2 separate regions of the Homo sapiens genome follow, and region 2 is linked to region 1. The links are contacts of gene promoters, found by promoter capture Hi-C in blood cells and fetal thymus (Javierre and others, 2016). All regions are on one chromosome and are shown on one strand. Each heading gives the region's core, a stretch centred on a gene start or on the middle of the fragment in contact. The rest is flanking DNA. Distances are from core to core; before and after follow the strand shown. Region 1 holds the start of INSIG2 (insulin induced gene 2). Region 2 has its middle 22 kb from the start of EN1.

The links. Contacts are between HindIII fragments. The CHiCAGO score rates a contact against its expected background, and 5 or more counts as called.
Region 2: a contact is called between a fragment that was not itself captured here and the fragment with the promoter of INSIG2 in region 1, in 2 of 17 cell types (M0 macrophages and total CD4 T cells). The highest score is 5.6, in M0 macrophages.

What each region holds. Positions count from the first base shown.
Region 1 is chr2:118,086,245-118,092,367 of GRCh38, reverse strand. It overlaps INSIG2 (insulin induced gene 2), which reads right to left and starts at 3,897. Exons shown (of 6, transcript NM_016133.4): 1 at 3,827-3,897. LOC107985940 (a long non-coding RNA gene) reads left to right here and starts at 3,937. Exons shown (of 3, transcript XR_001739662.3): 1 at 3,937-4,117. RefSeq lists enhancers at 3,943-4,132, 4,143-4,192. The HindIII fragment of the contact is 7,859 bases long and covers 742-6,123 here.
Region 2 is chr2:118,866,654-118,872,776 of GRCh38, reverse strand. No RefSeq gene overlaps it. Among named protein-coding and RNA genes, the nearest start is that of EN1, 22 kb to the right of the region's middle. The HindIII fragment of the contact is 736 bases long and covers 2,060-2,795 here.

The DNA of each region.
Region 1 (6,123 bases), core at 2,648-5,147:
TTTAATAGTACTAGATCAAGGTGTGAAAATGTTTTAAAGTAAAAAGAAAAAATAGCAAACTAACACTCTGTATAAGAACATTAGTTGACTCTTTACTTCCCCAGATCCCAGTAGACACAGCACGTTGCCCTCACGTGCTGCTAACAGCTGCTAGAAGATGGGCATACTTTGAGTAACCCACATTGAGACAGCGTATCATTTGTTTCTGTTTGTGATTTTTCCAAAAGGGAATTAATGGAAAGGGGTATTTTATGTTTAATAGTATTTTTAAAAAGGAAAATAACTTCAGTTTAAAAAAGCTATTTCAGTCATGCTAGCCCCCATCTCACACTGACCAGCATTTGTCAAAGGGCACTGATATTTTAGGCAGGACAATTATTTGCTGTGTGAGACTGTTCTAAGCATTGCAAAACATTTAGCATCCCTGGCTCCCACCCACTAAATGCCCCCTCCCCTATTTGTGATAACCAAAACTGTCCCCACAATGAGAGCCACTGATTGCTACAGACTTCATTCTATTTCAAGACAGCTAGAGACTTTCTGTTTATTTATGTTTTCTACCACAGCTGCTTATTTAACCTTTCCTGGCAGTGCTTGTTTAGTTTTCTACTTCGCCCCAAAAGTTTTCCTTAAAAATAACACATTTGCTTGACATTTATTTGAATGAGATTCAAAAAGCTAATTTTGTAACTACATCATAATACAATAGTATATAATTACTGGTGACAAAAAATAAAAGCTTTAAGAAATAGCAGGGAACTGGGAAATCATCTATTCCAAGGGGTATGAGACCCCCATGCGAAACAAAACAAAAAAGTTGTATATATATGCATTTTTTTCTGGGATGAAAGTTCCATAATTTATATAAAGTACTCAAAAAAGTCCATGATCCAAACAAAGTAAAGAATCAGTAATCTAACAATTCTCTCACTCTATTAGCAAGGCCAATGACATGCAAAGTAGTCAACTGGATTAACAAGATTAAGACAGTACCATCAGTTCTTATTACCACAAACGTGTATAGTGAATGCCAGAAAATGACCAGACTCATCAAAGGGATAGAGGCGTCCACAAAACCATTTCACCCCCTACCATGCAACAATGAAATTCCTTTAAAAGCATGTTTATAATATCAGTTGCACACTAGAGGAGTCAGAGGAGTGGGTTATTTTCAAGGGAAAGTAAGCTCCCTTAGTTTACTTTGAAGTTTGTTTTTCTGATTTTGTACTGATACCATTTTCTTAAAACAAAGTGGATCTATATCTTTAAATATTAGTCTTACATTAATGATAAACTTGATGCTCCAAAATTTTTTTTAAAAATCTATATTTGAAAAATTTAGATTACTTGACAAATAATTTGCTGACCAGGGAAAAAGTCTCTGGTATAAAGATACTGTTTAAAGGACAATATGTCAATAGATTCTCGAAAACAATCTTGGTAAATAGGCAGGTGTTGTTAGTTTCCATTTTACAAAATAAAATAGGTTAAGTAACTTTCCAAGATCACAGAACTGTTACCAGGTAGCACCAGGACTAGGCTCACCCACTCTGACCCCATGTCCGGAGTTCTTCCTGCTTCACCACACTGCTTCCATTCACAAACATGGTACAAAACAATTTAAGTGCCACACAAGAAACCGTTTTTAAAATCATGTTGGTAAACTACTATTAATACCAAAATAATGTTTTCAACAATTCACAAAGAAAAACTTTCCACCAGACTTGAAAAATTCTACGCTGAGCCCTGGCCTAAAATTTCTGGAAAGTACAATACTAAACAAAAAGAAAAAAAGTTGAAATAATTTGCATAGATCAATGATGAATCATCAATACTGGAAAAACATTATTCCAGGTGTATGGCTGCCTATTAATGGATTGATATTATTACTTTCAGGTTAAAAAAGAGTTATAAGTGATTATGAGCTTCGTGAATAAAAATCAAGGTTCATGTTGGCCACTGAAACAACTTAGAGGCAACAAGCATTTGAAAACAAACACACATACAAAATCTTCTAGTAACCTTAAGAACCTGTTGCATTGTAACAACTGCAACACCCCCTAAAACCAAATGACAAGACCATTCCTCTTCCAATGATTAGCCGTAAAAGAAGTATTTTTACTCCCTCAGATAACCCTGTTTCTTCAGGTGCTTAGGTCACGTAAGCTACTAAATAATAAAGTTAAATTACTACCTCACATATTTTTCATCATATGCTCTCTTAATTAGAATAGCATTCTTGAAATAGAATAAGCACTAACATTAGAAAAAAACAGACTTAAATCAATGCAACAGTTTAATGCTCCCTAAATAAAAACACATCTACATGTATCATGGGCTAGAGACGTTAAAAATTTCTAGGAAGAAAAGCAATATTTGCCTTATAAACACTGCAACTCTTTCCTCTCAACATTAAAACCCAAACATAGAAACCAGTAAGTTAGCTGCATTTACAGCCCCTTACAGGTTTTAAATGTCACATCTCAGTGCCTAAAAAAGTTACTCCATCGTTTCGAGATAAGTTTCTGAGAACAAAGAAAACTCTTTAAACTACTGAACTGCATTTTATTCTTTCCTTTTCCGTGTGACCATCTGCAAAAGCAACAGTTGTCAGTTAAACAGAATCAACCTCTTTCCCGAGTGGACATGATTCACAGCTTGGTCACTGTACAGCAGATGTGAACTGAGAACTACGACATAACACAATGACAAAACACAGTACTGAGCACAAAGTACAGGGAAAGAATGAAAGACAGAAAACAGGAAGAGCACACGTCTGATTTTTGTTTTCTTTGGGGCCCCCATTAGTAGCATTCCCTTCATCCATCTTCATTCAGTGGTTCACTATCAGGGCCAAACCCAAAAGTTACAAAACACCATCTAGCTACTGTCTGGCTGCTTTTATTTTTTCTGCACCAGGACGGGAGCACGCATTCCCCTGCAGTCCTCAGCTCCACCGCAATACTGATACCAAACAGTTTCAGTGGCCCAGCTGCCAAGCCTAACCATTCCTTTTTAAAGCATTTCTTCATCAATCCTACAAAACAGCAAGTTCTTCATGGTATATTTTCCTAGAGCATCTAGCTAATATCATACTTTAACAACTTTTTCCAACGTTAACTGGACATGGGTCATTATCACTTAAGTGTTAGCGCCATTGCCCGCGCCCACTCCCATAATCCACACTGCTTTCCTTCTCCATATTGCCAATCCCCACTAAGCAACCCTAAAATCTAGTAATTATCATCAAATCCACTTCTAGGCCCTGGCAAGAATTATTTGGCTTTACCGAAACACCTATTCCATAGGTAACCAATTCCAGTCAAAAATGCCAGAGTATTACTCCTCAACCCAATGCCCTATCTCCTTAGTGGATTATAAACTTACTACGACAACCTGTCTTCTTTGGATCCAATCCCCGCCCAAGTCTGAGTCTTCTCTCCCAGGCTACAAGCCCCCAAGTCCTGGCAGCTCTATGCTTGACAGCTCGCTGACCTCCACCTCATCAGACCATTGGGTCGCCCTTCTCGCCGTCCTCCAGCCTTCTTCCCGCTCAGACACTCATCCACTGTCCGGGGAGCCTCGACCCCTCCTATACCCCCTCCCCGATCCCGCAGTCCCCTTCTGGACCTTGCGGACCCCTCTCAGGTAAGCGGAGCCCCTTGCCCTGCAGGCCCATCAGTGGTCCTGGCTCCCCGCACCTGCCACCAGGGTTCCCAGGCTGCAAAAACACAAGTAGTTCTTCTTCCCAAGGGCCACCCTCCTCCTCAGGCCGCTTTCCTCAGCACCACGTCACCCGCGCTTCGCCGGGAGACCCCCAACTCACCCCCGCCTCCGCCATCTTCTGGGACCAGCCCCCGTACCCCCTACCGCCTCTTCCTCCTCCACTCCCACAACTCCGCCCGAGCTCCACTGCGCCTGTGCGGCCAACGAGGCCGCGCGCAGGCGATCGGGGCAGAAGAGCTTCCGGTTCCTGCTGTCAATAAGACGTGGACCTGCGAGCCGGGGCAAAAGGGCTTCCGGTCTGCGGGAAACTGGAGGCTAGCGGTGGGCGTGGACCGTCGAGGTGACTGGCGGTTGTCGGATCTGCTGTTGTTTGCTGACCAGGCAGCCGTAGGTAATGACGGATGCCCAGACCCTGTGGGCGGAGTAAAGGAATCATGCACTGATACACGCACACTCACCGAGGGGCGCGTCCGTCTGCGTGCCCCTCATCTCGTAGCCGAAAGGAGCGCGTTCCGGGGCAGGCCTCCGGGTACTTCCCGCAGAGGACCGGGCTTTATACTCTTTGCTCCTTTTCCTCCCCTAGTAAGTCATAACTTATTTTGGGAGAAGGGCATAGTTATTTGTCTCTCGTCTCCATGCTACAGCACTTTATGTGCTTTTCATTCAAAATCGTTCCTCGAGGACGACCAAGTAATGTGATTTGGGGGACAGTTTTCATAGGAAGGGCTTTATAAGTTTACACCAACATAAAGAAAACTTAAAAACCTTATAACCGCTTATTTTTCAGAAGTATTATTTTTCATTTAATCTAAAACCATACTTTTAGAACATGAAACCAAGCCAAACAGATCTTTGCAGATTGTGCAAGCGAACTTTTTTTTTTGAATGAAAGTGGTGCCATCAATGCAAAAGCAAGCCCATATAAGTGCCGAAAGGTACTCGTCATAAGGAGGAGTTGCTTCCCTATTCTGAATTTTTATTTATTTTTATTTATTTATTTATTTGAGACGGAGTCTCTCTCTGTCACCCAGGCTGGAGTGCACTGGCATGATCTCGGCTCACTGCAACCTCTGCCTCCCGGGTTCAAGTGATTCTTCTGCCTCAGCCTCCCCAGTAGCTGGGACTACAGGTACATGCCACCATGTCTGCCTACTTTTTGTATTTTTAGTAGAGATGGAGTTTCATCATATTGGCCAGGCTGGTCTCAAACTCCTGACCTCGTGATTCGCCCGCCTCATCCTCCCAAAGTGCTGGGATTACAGGCGTGAGCTGCCCCCTGAATTTGTTTTTTTTAAGCAACTCTTTTTAAAAAGAGAGAAAAAATAATCTCTCTTGAGTGTATTAGTTATTGAGCTATTCCATTTGGAGGTGGCTTAACCCAAAACGTGTATGGATGTGGTAAGATTACAATGGACTTGAATGTTCTAGATGAAATCTGGGCCGAGAGTAATTGCATAATAGTTTTCCAAAGGACTGTCAGATGGTAAACTCCTTTCATTTACTTTGAACTGATAAACGATAAGATGGATTTTTGTTTTTTGACCTTTTTATCTACATTTACTTCTGAAAATTGAAAAAGAATCTGAATTCCAACAAAATGTTTCTAGGCAAGTATTTGCATGATGCTTCTCTAACATTTCCTATATCTTAGTGTTTTCTCTAATGTTTTCTGTAGCTTTCAAATTTCACTCCTGTAAGTTTTTACACTACCAGTAAGAAAGATCTGGGCCAATTATACAGAATGGACGATGATTTTTAAAAGAATAGAGAAAGCATTCAGAAAAGAGACAATAATTTGAAAATGTTCTGACATCATGTATTTCCTTAAAGCAATACAAGTCCTGTATGTCCAGTTCATGTCTACTCCAACCGAGCTTTTTTCAGACACTTAGAAATTGCCTTCAAGAAAATCCTTATGGAACATTGTAACCTAGAGGGGCATTTATTTTCGTTTAAATATGTATTAATTGCAAGTAGTGACAGAACCTAAAAAGCAAAAACCATATAGCACCAGTTCCAAGGTTCCTATATCTAATGCAGTTACTCCTACTGCAGTACAAGGAGGAATATAAAATCCCTAGGAGAAATACAAAAGGCCATTGTCTTCTTTGACCAGATTTGAGGAAAGTTTTCATGGAAGATGTGGTCTTTCAGTGGGCGTTGAGGGTAAATATGCAGATATGGTTAGCCTGTGCATTCTGGTGGAAGCTCAGAGTTGGAAAAACATGAAACAGATTGCAGAGTCTGGCATGTACAAAGAGGTATGGTGAGACATGTGAGTTCTAAACATCAGGCTCATGAATTTGGACTAAATTTTTGTTATGGAAACATGGAAATCCTAAATTAATTGATGCCAGAATATAAATTGGTTAAGAACATCAAGAAATCATAACAACT
Region 2 (6,123 bases), core at 1,178-3,677, 780 kb before region 1:
ACCTACCAAAGAGTTAAGATCTGTTTGAAAAATACTGGCCTAGGAGTTCCCAATGTATATGCATACATTTTGACCTACCATTTTCATTTTTAGAAATTTTAGTCCCCTAAATAATGATTGTGTATTGAGAACTGTGTGCAAAGATACCCACTATAATAATAGATATAATCAGAAAAAAAGATAGCTATCTTAATGCCTGACAATTACTTAAATAAATGATTGTACATTTATGCAGTAATATAATAGATTTCCTTTAAAATTATAGATTTCCATATACCTAATGCTAAATGACGAGTTAATGGGTGCAGCACACCAACATGGCACATGTATACATATGTAACAAACATGCACATTGTGCACATGTACCCTAAAACTTAAAGTATAATAATAATAAAATTTTTTTAAAAAAGAGTTCTACATGTATTAGAAATACTAGTCCTTTATAAGTGATATATTTAGAAACATTTTCTCCCAGTTGGACATTTGCTTTTTAACTTATCTTGTTTTCTTTATAATGAAAAATGTTAGATGCATAGATTGCAAAAATTTTCTCAAAAAAATTATAGATTTCCTTTAAAGTATTTGATGATAGATATACTGAATGAATAGAATAGGTTATGTACCAGTATTCTTTATTTTTCAGCAAATATTTGTTTCCAGGCATGACAGTGAACTAGACAGACATGGACTCTGTCTTCACATGGCTTTCAGTTGAAGAGGACACAGAAAATAAATGGAATTACAGACAGAGTGATTGCATTCAGTGCTGGAAGAGGTGAAGAAAGAAGTGCTAGGGGAACAACGAAAGGGGGGGCCCAGGTCAGACTTGACCTGCACTTGCTGTTCAGGTTGAGGCCGAGCTTACACAGCAGTGACTTCTTCACTGGGACATGAGGACATTCAAGAGCTCAGCAGAGGCAGGTTTGGGGCTGGGATGAAGGTAGGGAAGAGGCCTCGTGTGAAGGCAGCTGTGTGACCACAAGTCCCAGGAGGCTCTTGAAAAGTTTCATGCTAAAGAGTGGCCTGGTCAGGTTCACACTTTAGAAGGGCTCCTCTCTAGTGTGGAGAATGGACTGTGGGGGTTCATGCTAAGAAGCAAAAAGTCAGACACATTGAGGCAATTCAGAGACGATGGTAAACTAATACAGAGGAGCTGGAAAGAAGTAGGTTGATCCAAGAGATATTTAGAGAGCATTGACTAGGGCTCATTGATTGGATATGGGTGGTAGGGAGAGGAAGGAGGTCGATATTAAGTGCTAACCAGCTTTCTGGCTTGGCCACCAGGATTAAGAGTGATTCTCTCAGGAGACAGAGAACACAGGGAGGGAAACTTTGCTGGAGGAGGAGGAAGAGGTGTTGGGTTCCACTAGGGTTCATTCATTTAGAGTTCTCCATTGGGGACACTTAGGAGGCAGGTGGAGATGAAAGTTTGTAGCTCAGGAGAGAGATCAAAACTGGCAGTAGAGATTCAGGAGTGACTCATCATCAACTGGGCACAAGAAAAGGCAAAACTGTACCGAAAGAAATTAAATCAGAGGTTGTGAGGGGCTGAGGGAAGGGGAAAGTGATTGCAAAGAAGCACAAAGGAATTTTGGGATGGGATGGAACAGTTCTCTATCTTGATGATCATCATGCTTAGACACTGAATACATTTGTCAAAAATTATAAAGTTAAAATTGGTTGATTTCTTATATATAAATTATACCTTAATTAAGCTGCTTTTTTTTTCAAAACAAAGAAGAAAGAAAATCCAATGCCTATCATAATCTAGAGATTCAGCTCCTAGGTTTATACTCAACATACAGGAGCACACATGTGCACCAAAACACATATTCACTGAAGTTCATAGCAGCCTTATTTATAATGGCCCCAACCTGGAAACAACCAAAATGTCCATCAATAGTAAAATGAATTGTGGCGGATCATACAATGTGTCATCACATATTCATCATTTTACTATTGAAAAAGCAAACTCTAGCTACATAAAGCTCCCAGATGAATCTCAGGCAGAATGTTGAGCTAAAGAAGCCATATGCAAAAGAGTACACATGATAAAGCTTCCATTTACGGGAACTTCAGATACAAGCAAAACTAATCTGCATGATGGAAATCAGACTAATGGCTACCTCTGCAGGGAGACATGACCAGGAAGGGCATGAGAGAGCTTTCTGGAGGCTGGAAATGTTAAATATGCAGATCTAGGTGGCAATAATACAGGTGTACATATACGGAAAAGTTTCATAAGCTGGACACTTCAGATCTGTAAAATTTTATTGAATGTAAGTTTTACCTCAATAAGAAAATGATCTAAGACATATCTGTAAGATTAAGTCCGTATTCATTTCAATTCCTTGAATTTAGATTTGACGGACATATAGACAAGGTGAGTTGGGGTTTCTATCTGCTCTCTATGAAAACAAGGAAATTAGTAGCATATACAATGGCCATGCTGAGCCTCCTTATGAGTGAAGAGTTGTTGGAGAATTGTCTTGACAGTTTGGAAAATTACAATCTGTGCAATCACATGTATTTCACATTGAATGTGCTAATTATAAGCATTTCTTATCTGTTCACCAGGTCAGATTTCCCAGCCACTGCCACCAGGGCCCCTGGAGTCTCAAGAAGACTTAATTGCCATCTCCCAGTGTCCTTGACTGAGGACCTGTTTAAAAGTGCTTTAGCAAATGTTTGAGCTGCAGGAGGAGTGCCGAGCTGTTCATTTTGCAGTGCTCAGAGGGTGAGGACCCCTTCTGCTGCTGTCCTGTTACCCTGGTTCACTGGTGGATGTGCAAGCTTGCTGTAGCCAGAAGCCCTCGTTACATTATGGTCTTCATGTTTAGGAAAAGCATTATTGAAAGCAGAAGATTGTGAGCCCCAGCTCCCCTAGAGCCTGGAAAGGAAGGGGAATTCAGAGTCACAGTCTCACTAAATTGAAGCTGGGGGCTAGGCCAAGCACATTTCCTGCATTATATAATGTAATCCTCTCAGTGACATGGCAGATGGCACTCCAGACCAACATGGGAGGAGGCAACAGGGATGGGACTACTGGGCATCCACGTAGAAAAACATAACATCGAATCCCTTCCTCCTCCATATATTCTGTACTTTTCAGTAAATCTCAGGTACACGGAGGATTTACAGGTGAAAGGCAAGACTTCAAAACTGTTCAAAGAAAATATAGAAGAGTATCTTTCTGACTTTGAGTTTGAGATGATTTCTTAAACACAAGAGAGAAAAAGCACTAACTACAATAAGGAAACATTAATAAACCAGACGACATTAAAATTAACTCTGTTCATCAAAAGACACCAAAAGAAAAGTGAAAGGCAGGCCATAGACCAGGAGAAAATATACGCAACATCTGTAGCTGGTAGATTACTATCCAGAATACATAAAGAACTCCTGCCAATGCATTAGAAAAAAGGACAGCCCAGCAGAAAATGAGCAAAAGCTGCAAATAGGCATTTCTCAGAAGAAGGAAGTAAAAAATAACCCAGTGAGACACAATTGTAGTAAAAACGCTAAGTTCTGGGCAAGACATGGACTTCAATGTTAATCCATTTCTGCTGTTTCTGATGAATGTGTATTTGATGCAATACAACTTGATGCTTTCCACCACAATGTGATGGAAATTTGTGACCTAGCACTTTGACTTCATTTATATACATGAGAGCAGGGGTTTGCAAACTGAGGCCTGTGGACTTTGTTTTTGCTAAATAAAGTTTTATTGGAAGTCAGCCACACTTACTTGTTAAGATATGGCTGCTCTTGTAACACACAACAGCAGAGTTGAGTAGTCGCAACAGACACCTTAAGGCTTCAAAGCCTACAATATTTACTAGCTGATATTTTGCAAACAAAGTTTGCCAACCCTGATCTAGAGACAGTTTTAAGGTATCATTTTCTTTTTACCTATAACTTTCTAGAACCCATACCATTTTAACAGGCTTTATTTTTAGAACAGTTTTAAACTCATAGGGAAATTGAGAAGACAGTAGAGAATTCCCATAGACTCTCTCACCCAGTTTTCTCTGTCATTGACCTTAGCATGGTACCCTTGTTACATATTGCTACATGATTAACTAAAGTCCATAGTTCATTCACATTTTCTTAGCTTTTATCTAAAGTCTTCTGCTCCAAGATCCCATCCATTTACTTGACATATTTCCTTAAGCTTCTCTTGGCTGTGAGAGTTTCTCAAACTTCCCCTGTTTCTGATGACCCTGACAGTTGAGCAGTACTGGTCAGGTGTTTTGTAGAATGTCTCTCTGTGGAATCTATTTGATGTGTTTCTCATGATTAGACTGGGGTTATGGACTTTGGGGAGGAAGACCACTGAGGTAAAATGCCATTTTTATCATTATATGAAAGACATGTACTAACATGATTTATCACTGTTGCTACTGACCTTGATCACCCAGCTGAGGTAGTATGTGTCAGATTTTGACACTGTAAAGTGACTCTTTCCCCTATACTCCGTGGAGGGAACAAACGCATCATGCACAGCCCAGCCCACACTTAGTGGGTAGGGATGTATCCTCTTCCTTGAGGCTGAAATATATAACATATGTTATATATAATGTTACATATTATATATGTTATATATAATGTTACATATTATATATGTTATATATAATGTTACATATTATATATGTTATATGTTATATATAATATATGTTATATGTTATATATAATATATGTTATATGTTATATATTATATATGCTATATGTTATATATTATATATGTTATATATTATATTATATATAATATATGTTATATATTATATTATATATAATATATGTTATATATTATATTATATATAATATATGTTATATATTATATTATATATAATATATGTTATATATTATATTATATATAATATATGTTATATATTATATTATATATAATATATGTTATATATTATATTATATATAATATATGTTATATATTATATTATATATAATATATGTTATATGTTATATATTATATATAATATATATGTTATATATTATATATAATATAATATATGTTATATGTTATATATAATATAATATATGTTATATGTTATATATAATATAATATATGTTATATGTTATATATAATATAATATATGTTATATGTTATATATAATATAATATATGTTATATGTTATATATAATATATGTTATATGTTATATGTTATATATAATATATGTTATATGTTATATGTTATATATAATATATGTTATATGTTATATGTTATATAATATATGTTATGTTATATATTATTTATATAATATATGTTATATATTATTTATATAATATATGTTATATATTATATATTATTTATATAATATGTTATAATATATAACATATAATATATTTTATTTATAATATATAACATATAATATATTTTATATATAATATATGTTATAGTTTATACATGTTATATAATATATGTTATATTTTATACATGTTATATATAATATATGTTATATTTTATACATGTTATATATAATATATGTTATATTTTATATATGTTATATATAATATATGTTATATTTTATATATGTTATATATAATATGTTATATTTTATATATGTTATATATAATATATGTTATATATGTCATATATACTATATATAATGTTATATATATTATATATAATAATATATTATATATTATATATAATGTTATATATATATTTTATATATATGTTGTGTGTATGTATATATATATATATCAGAATAGTTTTACTGCCCTAAAAATTCCCTGGGCTTCACCTATTCACCACCACTTTCCAAGCCCCTGGCAACCACCAATCTTTTTACTGTGTTCTAGAGATATTTTTACACATGTATACCAAGAGACAAAAACAAGAATGTTCACAGAAGTAAAGAGCTAGGAACAACCCAAATGTCCACTGACAAGGGGATAGATAAATAAAATGAGATTTATTCCAGCAATGAACTCTTATACAGCTGATAACCTGACTCAAGCCCTGTTACATGCATGCAACAGTGACGAATCTTGGAGAAGTAATACTTAGTGAAAAATCTAGTCCCATCGACCATAGAATATCATTTTTTATGAAACTCAAATACAAGTTAAACTAAACAACATGTAATAAAACCAGTTTTTAA